Linked DNA regions of Homo sapiens: regions 1, 2, 3 and 4 are each linked to region 5. Evidence: promoter capture Hi-C in human tissues and cell types (Jung and others, 2019). All regions are on one chromosome and are shown on one strand. Each heading gives the region's core, a stretch centred on a gene start or on the middle of the fragment in contact. The rest is flanking DNA. Distances are from core to core; before and after follow the strand shown.

Region 1 (2,700 bases), core at 69-2,568, 210 kb after region 5:
CTTCTCTTCTCTTCTCTTCTCTTCTCTTCTCTTCTCTTCTCTTCTCTTCTTTCTCTCTCTCTTTCTCTCTTTTTCTCTTTCGGAGTTTCACTCTCTGTCACCCAGGCTGGAGTGTGGTGGCACGATCTCGGCTCACTGCAACCTCTGCCTCGTGGGTTGAAGCTATTCTCCTGCCTCAGCCTCCCGAATAGCTGGGACTACAGGCGCGCCACCATGCCCTGCTACTTTTTGTATTTTTAGTAGAGACAGGGTTTCGCCCTGTTGTCAGACTGGTCAAGAACTCCTGACCTCAGGCAATCTGCCTGCCTTGGCCTCCCAAAGTACTGGGATTACAGGCATGAACCACCACACCCGGCCTGTTCATTTCTGTTTTAAAGTTTTTTTTATTTTTAATTTTTATGGGTACATAAAAGTTGTACATATTTATGGGGTATATGTGATATTTTGATAGCATCACACAATGTGTAATGATTAAATCTCAGTAATTGGGATATATATCACCTGAAACACCTATCATTTCTTTGTTTTGGGAACATTCCAAATCTTCTCTTCCAGCTATTATGAAATATGCGATGATTGTTGACTATAGTTGCTTCATCCTGCTACTGAACACTATTTTTTTTATAGCCCTTTAAGTTACATTTTTTTGGATGAACTCTTTAAATTCATTAAAATCAACTACCCACTATTTAATTGCTCCTAAGACACACAGTCTTAATACATTTTACAGTCACTGAATTTGGGATTTGTCCTAATGACATCATACAACAATTGAAGCTTTTTTCCCTTTCAGTGCTACCTAAAATGGTGGTGCAGCAATATCAATAATGATTTTTACATTTGATGAATTACTTATGTTTCAATGTTTTGGAAACTGGCACTCAGTTTCAGTACTTGTGAAATAAGAGAACTGGACCATGAAATACGATAAATAAAAACAACTTTTTTCCCTCTAGTAATGGATGTGTTTTAGATGAGTTAAGTTTCACTTGAGTGGAAAAAAATATGAGTAGGTCTATTGCTTGGAAAAGAGTGTATCCCATTGGCATTTGACAACATATGTATTAATTGAATTAATCACTGCTAAAAATAAAACCTACTAAGGGTATGTTATTATTTTACTTGTCACTTTAAGGAAAAATAGTTCGGTCTCATCATCTGTCACCCATGTCAGTTAATTGTAGTGCTAAGTTTCATATTACAATAAAAGTGTGATGGTTAAACATACAATATTTTAATTTAATTCAGAGGTGCCTCAATTGCAGGCAGTGCTCACTCTCTACTTCTCTTCCTGATCTTAGCTTGTCATCATAAAGATCAAATCTAATAACTCTTTTTCCTCTTACTGCTTATTTATTGATAGACTTACTCCTTTAAATATTTAATATTACTAGAATATTTAAGATTTTTAAAATAAAATATGAGCTTTTTAAGCATCTAGTATCTTCATCTATAAATTTCAAGATTAATCTAAATTTTATTAGCAGTAAAATATCTCATTAAATACGTTTATGACCATGAAATTGGAAGTTTGGACAGTTTATTTCTTATATACTCCTATAATTTTAAACTAATATAGGTAGTTTCTCTCCTTAAATTTTTCATGTTCAAGACAAAGATGCTATAAATAAAAGTTGTAGAAGTATAGTATCTTATTTAAAAGTAATGATGAGCCTCTTAAATGATTCCAAGGCCATTTAATTTTGACATTACATTGTATTTATGTTGATGGTTTGAGTGATCATTTGATATAAATTTGTTCTGAGAATCAATAAAGGAAATAGAGGAACTAATTATTCAAACTTAATAGTATCATTGCAAATTATAGTATGTACAAAATTCTTATTTACCTCTTAATAGTCTGCTTATTTTTTCTACAATAAATGATGCGGTAAAGGAAAACTATAATCAATTCACTGGATAACATGAACTCTTCTCTTCTTTACAGAGTATTTTGGGGAGAATAAAATCTACTTAAAATATATAATTTGTGTTCAATTTCTTCTCTTGCTAGCTGTAACATTAGCTAACTTGTTTATTTGCTCTTTAAAAAGATAACTTTATTATGACTTTTAAATAAATGTATACTCATTTTAATACATTTGAAAAACATAGACACTATAAGGGAAAAATGAAATATTCATTAGTTCTATTACTTGATACAACCACAGATAACATTTTGGTTAATTTTTTTTTCATTACTTTTCCTAGGTGTACATACCCATACATGTTCATAATATTATATTGTATGTGTTTCTGTAATTTGATTTTGTAATACTCTTATGTTTTACCTTGAACTTATCTCAGGTTTCTAAATTTTACTTTAAACATTTGCATAATATTTCATCATTGGTCACTTAGGTTTCTTCCATTTTTTTTTTGGTCTTATAAGTGGATATAATTATCAGTGAACATGACAGTGGAAAGAGTACGAACTTTAGAGTCAGACCTATGCAAGTTTCAGCTCTGGATATAACTGTTTCTGGATTTGTAACTTTATGCTATTCAGTTTCTCCATTCATAAAATAGAGATAATGCTGGCCTTAAATTATTTAAATATTAGAATTATTATGGTAATGAAGCAGGGTATTTTCTTGACACCTTCAAGGGACTCAGGACAGGGGTGCCTCATTTATTCAGCCTGCCCCTGTCTACCCCTTGTGAGAGGGAGTGTGTGAGCAAACGAGTGCTGGAACCAGA
Region 2 (2,700 bases), core at 196-2,695, 130 kb after region 5:
TAGCATGAATAATAACAATGATAATAATGATACAAAGCACTTACTATGCACCAGGCACTGTCCTAAACACCTTCTAAACATTATTTAATTTTTTCACAATTATAAGAGTTGGGTGCTGATATTGATCATTTTACAGATAAGGAAACTAAAGCAGAGAGAGATTAAATAGTACCTTGGTCCAAAGCTGGTAAGTGATGAAGCTGGGATTGAGGCAAAGGAAGGCTGACTGTAAATTTTTGCTTGCACCCATAAACTAAGTGACCCAGTAACCTGACTTTTCTAGGCTAGTCCCAATTGCAGATATTTTGTTGTATGATTATTTACATGGTAGGAAATTATTTTATCAATTTTATTGTTAGAAATGCTATTAATGATATACTTCTAATATATCATGATATATCATAATGATATATCTCCAAGGAAATCATATCTCTAAGGAAACCATTGTTTCTTACACTGGAAAAGCAAGACACTATAAAAACATTCTAAAATTTGTAATACATAATATAAAATTTCAATAGTTTTTATAAATGAGATACAGGTTTTAAGAGTCTTATTTTTTCTTATTTTAAATATATACTGGAGCCTCAAAGAACCAGAAAGAAATTTATAATAAAGAGGAATAGGATGTCAGTACCAGGAGCCTCTTGCTGGGGATCCAAGAGAGGCCTCCTAATTAATTTTTATTGTAAATTTTAACAATGGCGATGTTTCAAATGTGTTATCTAAAAGGGAACTTAATGGAGTTTTAATAGTGATATTTTATTTTTTGTCTTCCTATATTTTTATCGTAATTTGCCTGTGATTAACATTTTTTCCAGTAATAATACTGCAAAATAAAATATCTAGAATTAATCTTGTATATGATAAGCATTTTCTGAGCCAAACATTTCTAGGCCCTGCGTCAACTCTGTAGTATCTCTGTTTTTCAGATAAAGAAACGGATGCTCTAATTGACAAAGTGAAAACAAGTTAAGATTGAAATTGGGGTTTGTACAACTCCAGAGCTCATGCATGTTCTCTCTGTACTGCTGTAGTTTTAATTCTTTCTCAAAAGGTGTTTATCAAAAACAAATAAAAGGTGTTGTGCTTTGTTTTGATATGAGCGGAAGGGCTCATTAGTTCTGTGCCTCCTTCCTTTTTTCATTGCTCCTGCTGTCCTGCAGAGAACTTTCCCATGCAGAATAGCCATAATATACCACAGCCTTCATGTTCCAAAAAGGGAAACCTGAGAAGGAGCCACAGTCTTCCTGCAGGCAACAGATGGTTACTGTTTAAATGAGGGTAAACTCTGGATCTCATCTGTGAAGTGACTCTAGGTTTTTTGGGTGGGTGGTTTGGGGAGTTAGGTCAAAGGAACAAGCTAGTAACAAGATTTAGGAGGAGGAGGAAGAAGAAGTAAACACACCAAATTTGTCTGTAGCTTTTTTTGCCCTTATATACTCTTTAATCATAGTCACATGGCAGGTTGTATTTTTCTGACCCCTCCTCTACCCCAAATAGAGGGAGAGGAATGAAGGGAGGGCATGGCAGGCTGTTGAAATTTGTAGTGTGTTGGCATCTAGCAAGTGCGTTTTGCTGTGGGGTAAGTTCTGTGGCTTGTTTTCTGTCTTCGTGAATAGAGCCTTTCCAACTTTGCCAAGCCTACAGTTAATGTGGTCAAGGGATTTATTATGAAATGTACTAAATCTTGGCGTGGAGCTAATTGCATATAACAAGAAGCCTGCTAGAGGCTTGGACCTGAGAAGTGACACATGCAAAAAGCATTCTCTTTCTGATGCTGCTGAAAGAGGTTTTGTGTAGGGGAATGTCTGCATGTCTGCACTTATTGCTAATGAGGTAACCCCCTCTCCCCCAAAGCTTATTTCTGAGTTACTTGTTAAATAAATGTAAAATTCTCTCTCTCTTTCCTTCTTCCCACTTTTATGAACAATTGGCAATTGAAGAATTGATATTTATTTACTAACTCCACTTCCAAACCTCTTAATATTATAAAAATACATTTGTGGCTGTAAATTACATGAGTGTAATTATGACCTAGAATAATTCTAATGTAAAAGTATAAAAGTCAATCAGAGAAGTTGTACTAGTCTTCTTGGGCTGCCGTAACGAAATACTTTAGAGTGGGTGGCTTAAACAACAGAAGTTTATTTTTTTCCACAGTTCTGGAAGCTGAACGTTTAAAATCAGGATGCTAACATGGTTGGATTCTGGTGAGGTCTCTCTTTCTAGCTTACAGACTGCCACCCTCTTACAGCGTCCTTACGTGGTGAAGAGAGACAGTGCATGCTCTCTGGTGGCTCTTCTTGTAAGGGCACTAATCCCATCATGAGGGCCCCATCCTCATGATCTCATGTAAACCTAGTTACCTCCCAAAGGCTCCATTTCTGAGTACCATCACATTGGGGGTTAGGACTTTGGAATATGAATTGGGGATGACACAATTCAGTCCATAGCAGAAGTGGTTAAAGGAAAGGACCAACATTGCATTTTTTTTAGTTCAGCATGTGCCCCTAAAACTTAATTTATTTTAAAATGTAGTTGGAAAATAGTAATTGGAAAACAGTTTTTTAACCTTTTCTATTGTTGCAATTTTGTTGTCTATATCTTCTCATAGCTTTATTGAGATATTATCTTTATATTTCTCACAATATCCTAATATGTGCATTGTACATAGTAAGTGGTTAGTATTTGTGTGGT
Region 3 (2,700 bases), core at 134-2,633, 130 kb before region 5:
AGTAACAACCATTAATTGCCTGTTTTCTTTTTCTTCTAATTGTTCCTTCATTGAAATTTATTTGCGTGTTGGAAGCTTTCCAGTGCTGATGCAAGGCTTCATCTGTGAAAGCTGTTCTTTCTCCCCATTTTCTTCTCTTTCTGAGATTAAAATATTAAACTTTTTATAAGGCAGACATCTACATTTGTTCATATATGCTTTTCATAAAGAATTGTTCTATTAATTGATGCATATGGTTTAAACCAAAGTTTGGCAAATGGTGTTCCTTGGTCACATCTGGCCCACCACTGATTTTTGTGAATGAAGTTTTGTTGGAAAACAGCTACGGTACGGTTGTTTACGTATTGTTTATGGCTGATTTCATGCCACAATGGCAGAGTTGAATATTGCAAGAGTCTGTAAGGCCCACAAAGCCTAAAATATTTATTCTCTGGCTCTTTACAGAAAAAGTTTTGTTAACACTGGTTTTCAAACGCATGAATAAGAATAACAATGCTTGATAATTCTGCATGGTTAGTTGCAGACTTTATTGACAGCCATCAGCACCCTTGGTAGCACTAGTCCTGAGATACTGTGATTGCCTATTTGCTTGTCTGTAGTGTCTTTAAGAAGATAAACTCTTTCTGGGCAGATATCTTATCCTTAAATGTATCTTCCACACCAGAAGAATTCTTACATCTAAAACGTTGTATGTACTAAGTAGTTGTTGAATGAGTGGATGTTTTATTTTTTAACTATGTAAGATCTTATGTCAGAGTGTAATAATAATTGACATGTATGAAGCATTTCTTACAGATTCAAGGAAGTATAAGTAAACACTTTTACTACTTCATTGAATCCTCTCACCCTTTGAGGTAGTTATTATTGCTGTTTTACAGATGAGGTAACTTAAGACCCAGAATGATGACATTTCTAACATCACAGCTAGAAAGCCCAGAACTAGGAGCCTATGTATCTTGAAATTTAGTTTTTATGCTAGATGTGCTGCTTCTTCCACCATAAAATAGCTGACCTACCATCTCTGCTTTTAAAAGATGCTAAATTCAAACATAACTTTGAAAAATGATAAAGTATCATTTATTTTGGAGAGCTAATGACTTTAATTGAGAGATATCTTAGAGAATTAGTGGTAGTAATAGAAATTTAAGGAGTATCCCAATTTTTAAATTTTACAATAACTTGTATTCATCATTAGAGACGTTGTAGATATTGACATTGAGAAATCTTAAAATATCTCTTTTTTTTTTTCCTGCTTCATTTTTTTTCCCCTACATGATTAGAACTCTATTTATGTGGTCAACTTAAACTGTAGGTACCTTTCTCCTTCATTTCTGAAATTAGGCTGCTTTCTTATTTGTATAAATAGTTGAAAATTGGTGGGAAAATGGTAAAAGCCAAACCCATGTAGCTTTCGTGTGACTTTGGAAGTAAGACATGTCAGAACTCTAGACATAATATGAGTATAAAATGATTTTAATGTATGTCCTTATGGTTTTCTCATCCAAATATGAGCAAAATTGTACAAATTTAATATTTTAAATATATTCTAAGCTTACAAAGTCTGCATGAGTTTACCATTGATCCTCTTTAGTATTCCTGAGGTCATGCATTATGTCTCAGTTTTGTTTTGTTTTTTTAATATTTCAATTTTATTCTTTTTTATTTCTTTTCCTTTTTTTAAGAAAATGAAGCCCATTGGCCTCCTACAATAAAAGCATAGACTTGTCTTCCCACTCTAAGTAGAAAATGGAACAGTGATATTAAGATGATTTAGAAGATTCTGGGCCAGGCACAGTGGCCCATGCCTGTAATCCCAGCACTTTGGGAAGCCAAGGCTGGCAGATCATTAGGTCAGGAGATTGAGACCATCCTGGCTAACATGGTGAAACCCGATCTCTATTAAAAATACAAAAATAAGCTGGGCGTGGTGGCGTGTGCCTGTAGTCCCAGCTACCTGGGAGGCTGAGGCAGGAGGATTGCTTGAACCTGGGGGGCGGAGGTCACAGTGAGCCGAGATCGCGCCACTGCACTGTGCGAGACTCAGTTTCAAAAAAAAAAATAAAGAAAGAAAGAAAATTCTGTGTGTATATTGTGGTAAATAATTTGTTGACTTAATTGAATGCTGGTAGAACCAGATATGTTAAGATCTCATATCTTTATCTTCAGGGTACATACTGGGTTGCTTTTACTTGTATCTCTGACCAAATGGAAGTTTTCTATATAAGATCAGCTAGGAGAAAAAGGCATGAATTTTGGTTATGTGTGATATAAGAAATTAAAAAGAGAAATGAACATAATCCAAGTCCCCACACTCACTTTAATTAAGATATTGTAGATCCAGTTTAATCTGCGTTCTTAAAGTTGAAAGGCTGGTTGCTAATGGAAGAAGCTAGCCTCCTGAAGATGTGGAAATATTTGATACTTAGACTTGGGTGCACCTGTTCCAGTGCTTTATAGCAAACATACCAGCATTCTCCACTGCTTAGAGAAATGGTAATAGTTTAATCTGTCCAATTTGCTTTTAATCACTGATTTCATTTTTTAAAAATTGCACAATCGTCTCCAGAATGTACTTTCCTCTGATCCCAGATCTTGGCTTAACTGTCTCCATTTCTGTTGGATATGATTTCATGCCTGGATTATGAAGAGTAGACTATTGTTTAGGCTTTCAGCATAAGGAGCTTGACAGACAAAATGCAC
Region 4 (2,700 bases), core at 181-2,680, 240 kb after region 5:
TAAAGTAAGAATTTTAAAATGAGACCAATAGCTGTGCAGTATCACTTTTGTTGAATGCGTATATAACTTTTCAAATGATGCAAAATGTTTCAAAATTAATTTTATTACTTCAGAAATACCTTAAGGCTAATCTAATTGATAGCTTAAACTGTATTTTAACATTCATTTAATGCTTGTTTTATCATGTGAATCTTTGTACTTCTTCCAATTCTGCCTACCATTTCCATTTTATTAGTGGGTTTGATTTAGATTTTTGACAATATCTTTATTTTGAAAATACAACCATGATTGATCTAGAATGGGCATTTCCCAGTTATAGAATCTAACTGGCTAAGTTCATCAATCAATTTTTATTTGCTTTTGCCTTTGAGTAATATCTCATGATCAAGATTGTAATTTCAGATTTTTATTCAGTATCTTTTATTTTTTGCTTTATATTTTGCATAAATACTAGCATGATAATTGCTTTCTTACCCCTTTTTATTGGTTTTGTTTTTATTCCTTCTGGTGTCTTGTTTCTGAAGTACCTTGTTGAAATTTGGGCAGAAAACAAGGCAAGCAAATAAAGAACTACAATAAGAAGAAACTAAAGAAAGTTTTCCTTTAAATCAAGAAGAAATACAAAATTGTGACACTGGTTGATAATGTCTACATTAGGATGTATTTTGTTTGAAGACTGGTTGAGTGTTTTAAAACTTGAAATGCCTTGTCAGTATTATTTTTGGCTCTGTAGTCCATCCTGACATTGGTTATCATATTTATAAATAATATTTTATATGCAGGTATATTATACAAAATGAAAATGGCACCTTTTGTATTATGTGTTAAGTATCTATTGAAGCAATGTGAATGAATTTAGCTTGAAATATTAATATTAGCCTCCTCATGGATCTCACTGCCCTAGAGTCATATTTGTTCTACTAGTAGTCCAGCTGCTACACTACTCCTTTTTTTTTTTTTTTGAGATGGAATTTCAATCTTGTTGCCCAGGCTGGAGTGCAATGGCGCGATCTTAGCTCACTGCAACCTCCGTCTCCTGGGTTCAAGCGATTCTCCTGCCTTAGCCTCCCGAGTAGCTGGAATTACAGACATGCGCCACCATTCCCAGCTAATTTTGTATTTTTAGTAAATATAGGGTTTCTCCATGTTAGTCAGGCTGGTCTCAAACTCCTGAGCTCAGGTGATCTGCCTGTCTCGGCCTCCCAAAGTGCTGGGATTACAGGTGTGAGCCACCACGCCCAGCCTGCTGCATTACTTTTAGAAGGGTCAATCTTCCACCCTGATGAACCCATTGCTTTTAATCTAAAACCCTCCCATCCCTGTCTTTCTACTGCTTATAGATAAAGACCAGGCTTTACTATGAGTCTCTTGTTCATATACCTTCTACTTTTGTTCTATATTAATCTTCTGCCGTTCCTTTTGGGCTGTTGTCTGTATCTCTCTTGCCCATCCATGAGAATATTCCCCTTTCTCTCCATTTTATTTGCTGGCAGTATTCAACATCTCCTATTTCTCAAAACAATCCACATTGCATTGCTTTTTTCTTGTATCATTTATGCTGTTCTATCTTGAAAACCCTTTTCCCAATCTTTGCCTTCTAGCCTGAATGGAGAAAGTCCTGCTGGTCTAATCTCAGACTCTGTGACTTGGCCTCCTGTATAAATCTCTGTCCCAGTACTTTGCAAAGCTTGGTAATATAGTGTTTTATGTTTTTGTTTCTGCCTGAGACTGTAATCTATTTATGGCCAGATTTTTAAATTTAATTCTTTTATGCTTCCCCAAGACCTAGCATATAACAAGTGTCCCAGAATTTGAAGTAAACAAAAACTTTATCATACTTATTTTAAACATAATTTTCTTTATACCCCTTTCACTTTAAAATATTTTACAATTTTGATTCATTAGATTGAAGGAAAGCCTCTCAAGTAGATGGTACATATTGGTAATAATAATTAAAAAATTATTTTGTTTCTTTTTCTAGGACCAATCAGTGTTGTGCGTGTGTGTGTGTGTGTGTGTGTGTAACCATGAAAATAGATATTTGCTGAACTCATAAGTTTATTTGGGTAACAAGAGTCAAAATGATATTGGTTAGCAAATAAAAATTCAGGATACATATTCCAAAAATGCTGTTTATGTAATTAATTTGGTGAAGTCTGTCAAAAAAACCAGCTAGTTGCTGTGGCCGTGTTGACTGCTGTGGTAAATTAAGTGATGCCCTAGCAAACTAAAGACAGTGTCATGCCTTCCAAAAGGCCCAGAGAGAGCTTCAGGAGAGAATAGGTCCATCCTCATGTAGCCGGGAGAATTGCAGAATGAAATTGCTCCCAGTATTACTAGTAAACCTTCAAATTTCATTTACTGGGGCAGAGATAGTTCGGGTTTTAAGGAAATAATAGAAAATCATGGTCTGAAAATTCTCAAACCTGAAAGGTGATATTCCATTTCAGGCAGAAGAAGAAGTTGCTCCTCAAAATAGAAATGTTGAAAGAGAAGGAAGTTGACGTTTAAAAAAAGTAGTTGTGAAATAGCAGCTGTTTCTTTTAGCTCTGATATTCAATAAAAATAAAATTTATTTTGCCTTTAATTGTATTTTATTTGCCCATCATACATAAAAGTACTTACATTATATATGAAATATTGTATATATCAGGAACAAGTGTAAAGCTTCATGAACAATTTGGAGTGACTTATAGTTTT
Region 5 (2,700 bases), core at 12-2,511:
AATGAATTTTTTATTGATAAGTGCAAAAAGATTACATTTAATGTTTAAAAAAGATTTAATAGAAACAATTTAAGAAAAGGGAGTAGTTGAAAGAAAATAGTAGGCTAAGAATTGAATATAGAAATAGATATGAAGAAAATTGGAAGAAAGTTACTTCAGGGTGAAAAACTGTTAAAAAAAAAAATGACTTAGATCACACACTTGGTGGTGACCAGAGACTGTTTGTCAATATTTTGGAGGAAAAAAATTTTACAGAAGGAGAAAATAAGTAATGCTGGAGAGTGGGAAGCTGAAAGGTATTGAAAGGAAAAGAGTATTTGGAAGTCACGAGATATCTCCCTGGGAAATAGAGTTGGCAAAATGGCTGATTTTAAAGAGGTTAACTATTCTCCCCAAATTTCTGACTGTGAACTAGCTTACTTTATATTTACCCACTTAGAAAGTGTTTCAACACTTAAAGACTTAGCAAGGAGACCACAAAGTATAAGACGTTACATACTTTTCCAAAAGAAACACGACTAACTGTAAACTGTCATCAAATACAAATGGAATGGGTTTTCTCTTTTGGGTTTTATTTTTTTATTTTTAATTTTTTGGTGGTTGTTTTCGTTTAACGGTTTCAAAAAATATGTAGAAGGGAAATATTTCATTTCCCTTGGACGCTCAACTGTATATATTTCAAGATTCTTAAAACCCCCACCTCAAACTGCAGGCTTAATTTTAATGTGTTCATTTTTTACAAGGTGTGTCAACGTTTTATCAATTTCTGAAAAGTGTCTATGGCCCCGAAAAGTTGAAATCCACGACATTATATCATCTCTGCGAGCCCTTTCCAGCTCTCAAGGTACAATAATTCCACGAATCTTTGTTCTTCAAACCAGGAGGTTTTCTGGAAACCTTCTTAAACAACCAGGACAGGACCCATGAGGGAAATCTTGGGGATGCTCTGAGCAGCGGACGGGGCTTGGGAAGCGCACCCCTGTACCCGGGCTGCCTCCGGCCCGCACCCCGCCGCTCCCCAAGTCGGCTCCGCACTCCGCACACAGGCGGCGGCGCTGGGGCCGCTCCAAGTGCGTTGAGAAGTGTAATCCCTCCGCTAAGTACTTGGCTCTCAGTCTCCAATCACTAGTGGGAGCTGGAGAGGGCAAGTGAAAAAAAAAAATTCCAGAGGCAGCCGAGGAGCGAGAGGGAAAAAAAAAAAAAAAAAAAAAAAAAGTCCCGCGGTGGCGGCGGCGGCGGCGGCGGAGCGGCCGCGGCGGCCAGAAGTTGACGGCGCAGCCGGGCGCGGGGCGCGGAGTCGGCGGGGCCTCGCGGGACGCCGGGCAGTGCGGAGACCGCGGCGCTGAGGACGCGGGAGCCGGGAGCGCAGCCGCGGGTAAGGCGCGCGCGGCGGGGCCCCGTCCCCTGCGGGTGGCCGAGTTCCCGAGCGCGCGGGAGGCGGCCGAGCCGGCGAGAGCCGGGCAGAGCGAGGGGCGGCGCGGGACGGGTAGCGGCTGGGTGCGGAGCTGGGCGGCGGTCGCCCTAGGCAGGACGGAGCGCGCGAGGGAGAGGGCGAGAGCGAGGGCGGGCTGCGCGGCCGTGGGGCGGTGGCGGCGGCGGGGAGGGGGTCAGGCGGTGGCCGCCTCGGCTTTGTGCGCGGGCGGCTCTGCCGGGACCCCGAGGCCTCGTGCCTGCGCAGGCGAGGAGTCGGGGCAGCGGCGGCGGCGGGCGGGACACGTGCTTCGGGCTGTAGGGACGCCCCAAGGCAGGGAGTCGGACCTGCGAGCGGAGGGATGGGGCGGGAGGGCGAGCTGAGGGCAGTCGCGGAATCCGGGAAATGGGAGGGAGCCCGGCGGGGCGGGGGCCCAGGGCCAGCCCAGGCGGGACCCGCAGGCACCCACCTGCCCCGGACGCCTCCCGAGACCCAGCCTTGCCGTGGGGGAAAGTGCGCAGCGGGCTGGTCCCGGCGCCTTGGACTGGGCTCCGTCTCTGCTTCAGTTGCCTGTCTCTTCTCCTCTCTCTCCTGCTTCTCTCTCTCTATGCCTCTCTCTCAAGTTCTGGGTCTTTCATTCTCTCCCTTTTCTTCCTTTCTCCCTTCCTCTCCTTATTGCTATCCTTTGCCTCTCCCCCCGGTCTCTCTTTCCTTCCGTGCGTCTGTCTCCCTCTCCCCACCGCCTGCTCTGGCTCTCCCAGTGTGTCCCTCCTCTGTCCCTTCATCCTCTTCCCTCTGTCACTTTCGCACAATCTTTTGGTCTCTCTCTCTCTCTCAAGAGGCTTTCGCTCCCGGTCTTCCTGGCTCCCCTGTCTCTTGCTCTCTGCGCCCATCTCTCTGCTCGTCCCTCTTTCTGTCCAGGCTCCGTGTTTCCGCCTGTGTTTGGCGGTGTTGGAGAAGAGCCTCTGGAAGTTGTCCGCTGTGGTGCGGGTCTTACTTCTTTAGAGCTGCACCCCTCCAGCTGGGTCCTGCTGTTTGTTCTGAATGGAAACGCTGCAGTTCCCTTGAGTTATTAGAAACTGCTCTTTTCTTAGCCACCTTTCCAGCAAGGTGAGGTCAGTGACTACGAGCGGCCACAAAGGTGCCAGTGAAAGACAACGGAGGAAGAGAGCCGTTTCACTACCTCCAACAGATAAAGAAAATGTGTTAATACCAAACTTACCTGCAGCAAAGCAGAGCCACCTGAGAAAAGGTTCTTGAGTTCTGCAAAGAAACATAAAAGGCTCCAC

The links. Contacts are between HindIII fragments. The study calls those that stand out against the background at their distance.
Region 1: a contact is called between a fragment that was not itself captured here and the fragment with the promoter of BMPR1B in region 5, in 1 of the 25 tissues and cell types used here (mesendoderm cells).
Region 2: a contact is called between a fragment that was not itself captured here and the fragment with the promoter of BMPR1B in region 5, in 1 of the 25 tissues and cell types used here (mesendoderm cells).
Region 3: a fragment that was not itself captured here is called in contact with the fragment with the promoter of BMPR1B in region 5 in 1 of the 25 tissues and cell types used here (mesenchymal stem cells).
Region 4: a fragment that was not itself captured here is called in contact with the fragment with the promoter of BMPR1B in region 5 in 2 of the 25 tissues and cell types used here (dorsolateral prefrontal cortex and mesenchymal stem cells).

Annotation. Positions count from the first base shown.
Region 1 is chr4:94,970,256-94,972,955 of GRCh38, forward strand. All of the region lies in intron 2 of BMPR1B (bone morphogenetic protein receptor type 1B), which reads left to right. Among named protein-coding and RNA genes, the nearest start is that of BMPR1B, 210 kb to the left of the region's middle. The HindIII fragment of the contact is 6,540 bases long and covers 1-2,700 here.
Region 2 is chr4:94,888,466-94,891,165 of GRCh38, forward strand. The region is part of intron 2 of BMPR1B (bone morphogenetic protein receptor type 1B); the gene reads left to right. Among named protein-coding and RNA genes, the nearest start is that of BMPR1B, 130 kb to the left of the region's middle. The HindIII fragment of the contact is 3,317 bases long and covers 1-2,700 here.
Region 3 is chr4:94,627,286-94,629,985 of GRCh38, forward strand. The region is part of intron 8 of PDLIM5 (PDZ and LIM domain 5); the gene reads left to right. Among named protein-coding and RNA genes, the nearest start is that of BMPR1B-DT, 130 kb to the right of the region's middle. The HindIII fragment of the contact is 4,743 bases long and covers 1-2,700 here.
Region 4 is chr4:94,997,429-95,000,128 of GRCh38, forward strand. All of the region lies in intron 3 of BMPR1B (bone morphogenetic protein receptor type 1B), which reads left to right. Among named protein-coding and RNA genes, the nearest start is that of BMPR1B, 240 kb to the left of the region's middle. The HindIII fragment of the contact is 3,089 bases long and covers 1-2,700 here.
Region 5 is chr4:94,756,694-94,759,393 of GRCh38, forward strand. BMPR1B (bone morphogenetic protein receptor type 1B) reads left to right here and starts at 1,262. Exons shown (of 13, transcript NM_001203.3): 1 at 1,262-1,375. It overlaps BMPR1B-DT (BMPR1B divergent transcript), which reads right to left and starts at 840. Exons shown (of 3, transcript NR_121610.1): 1 at 701-840. The HindIII fragment of the contact is 6,502 bases long and covers 1-2,700 here.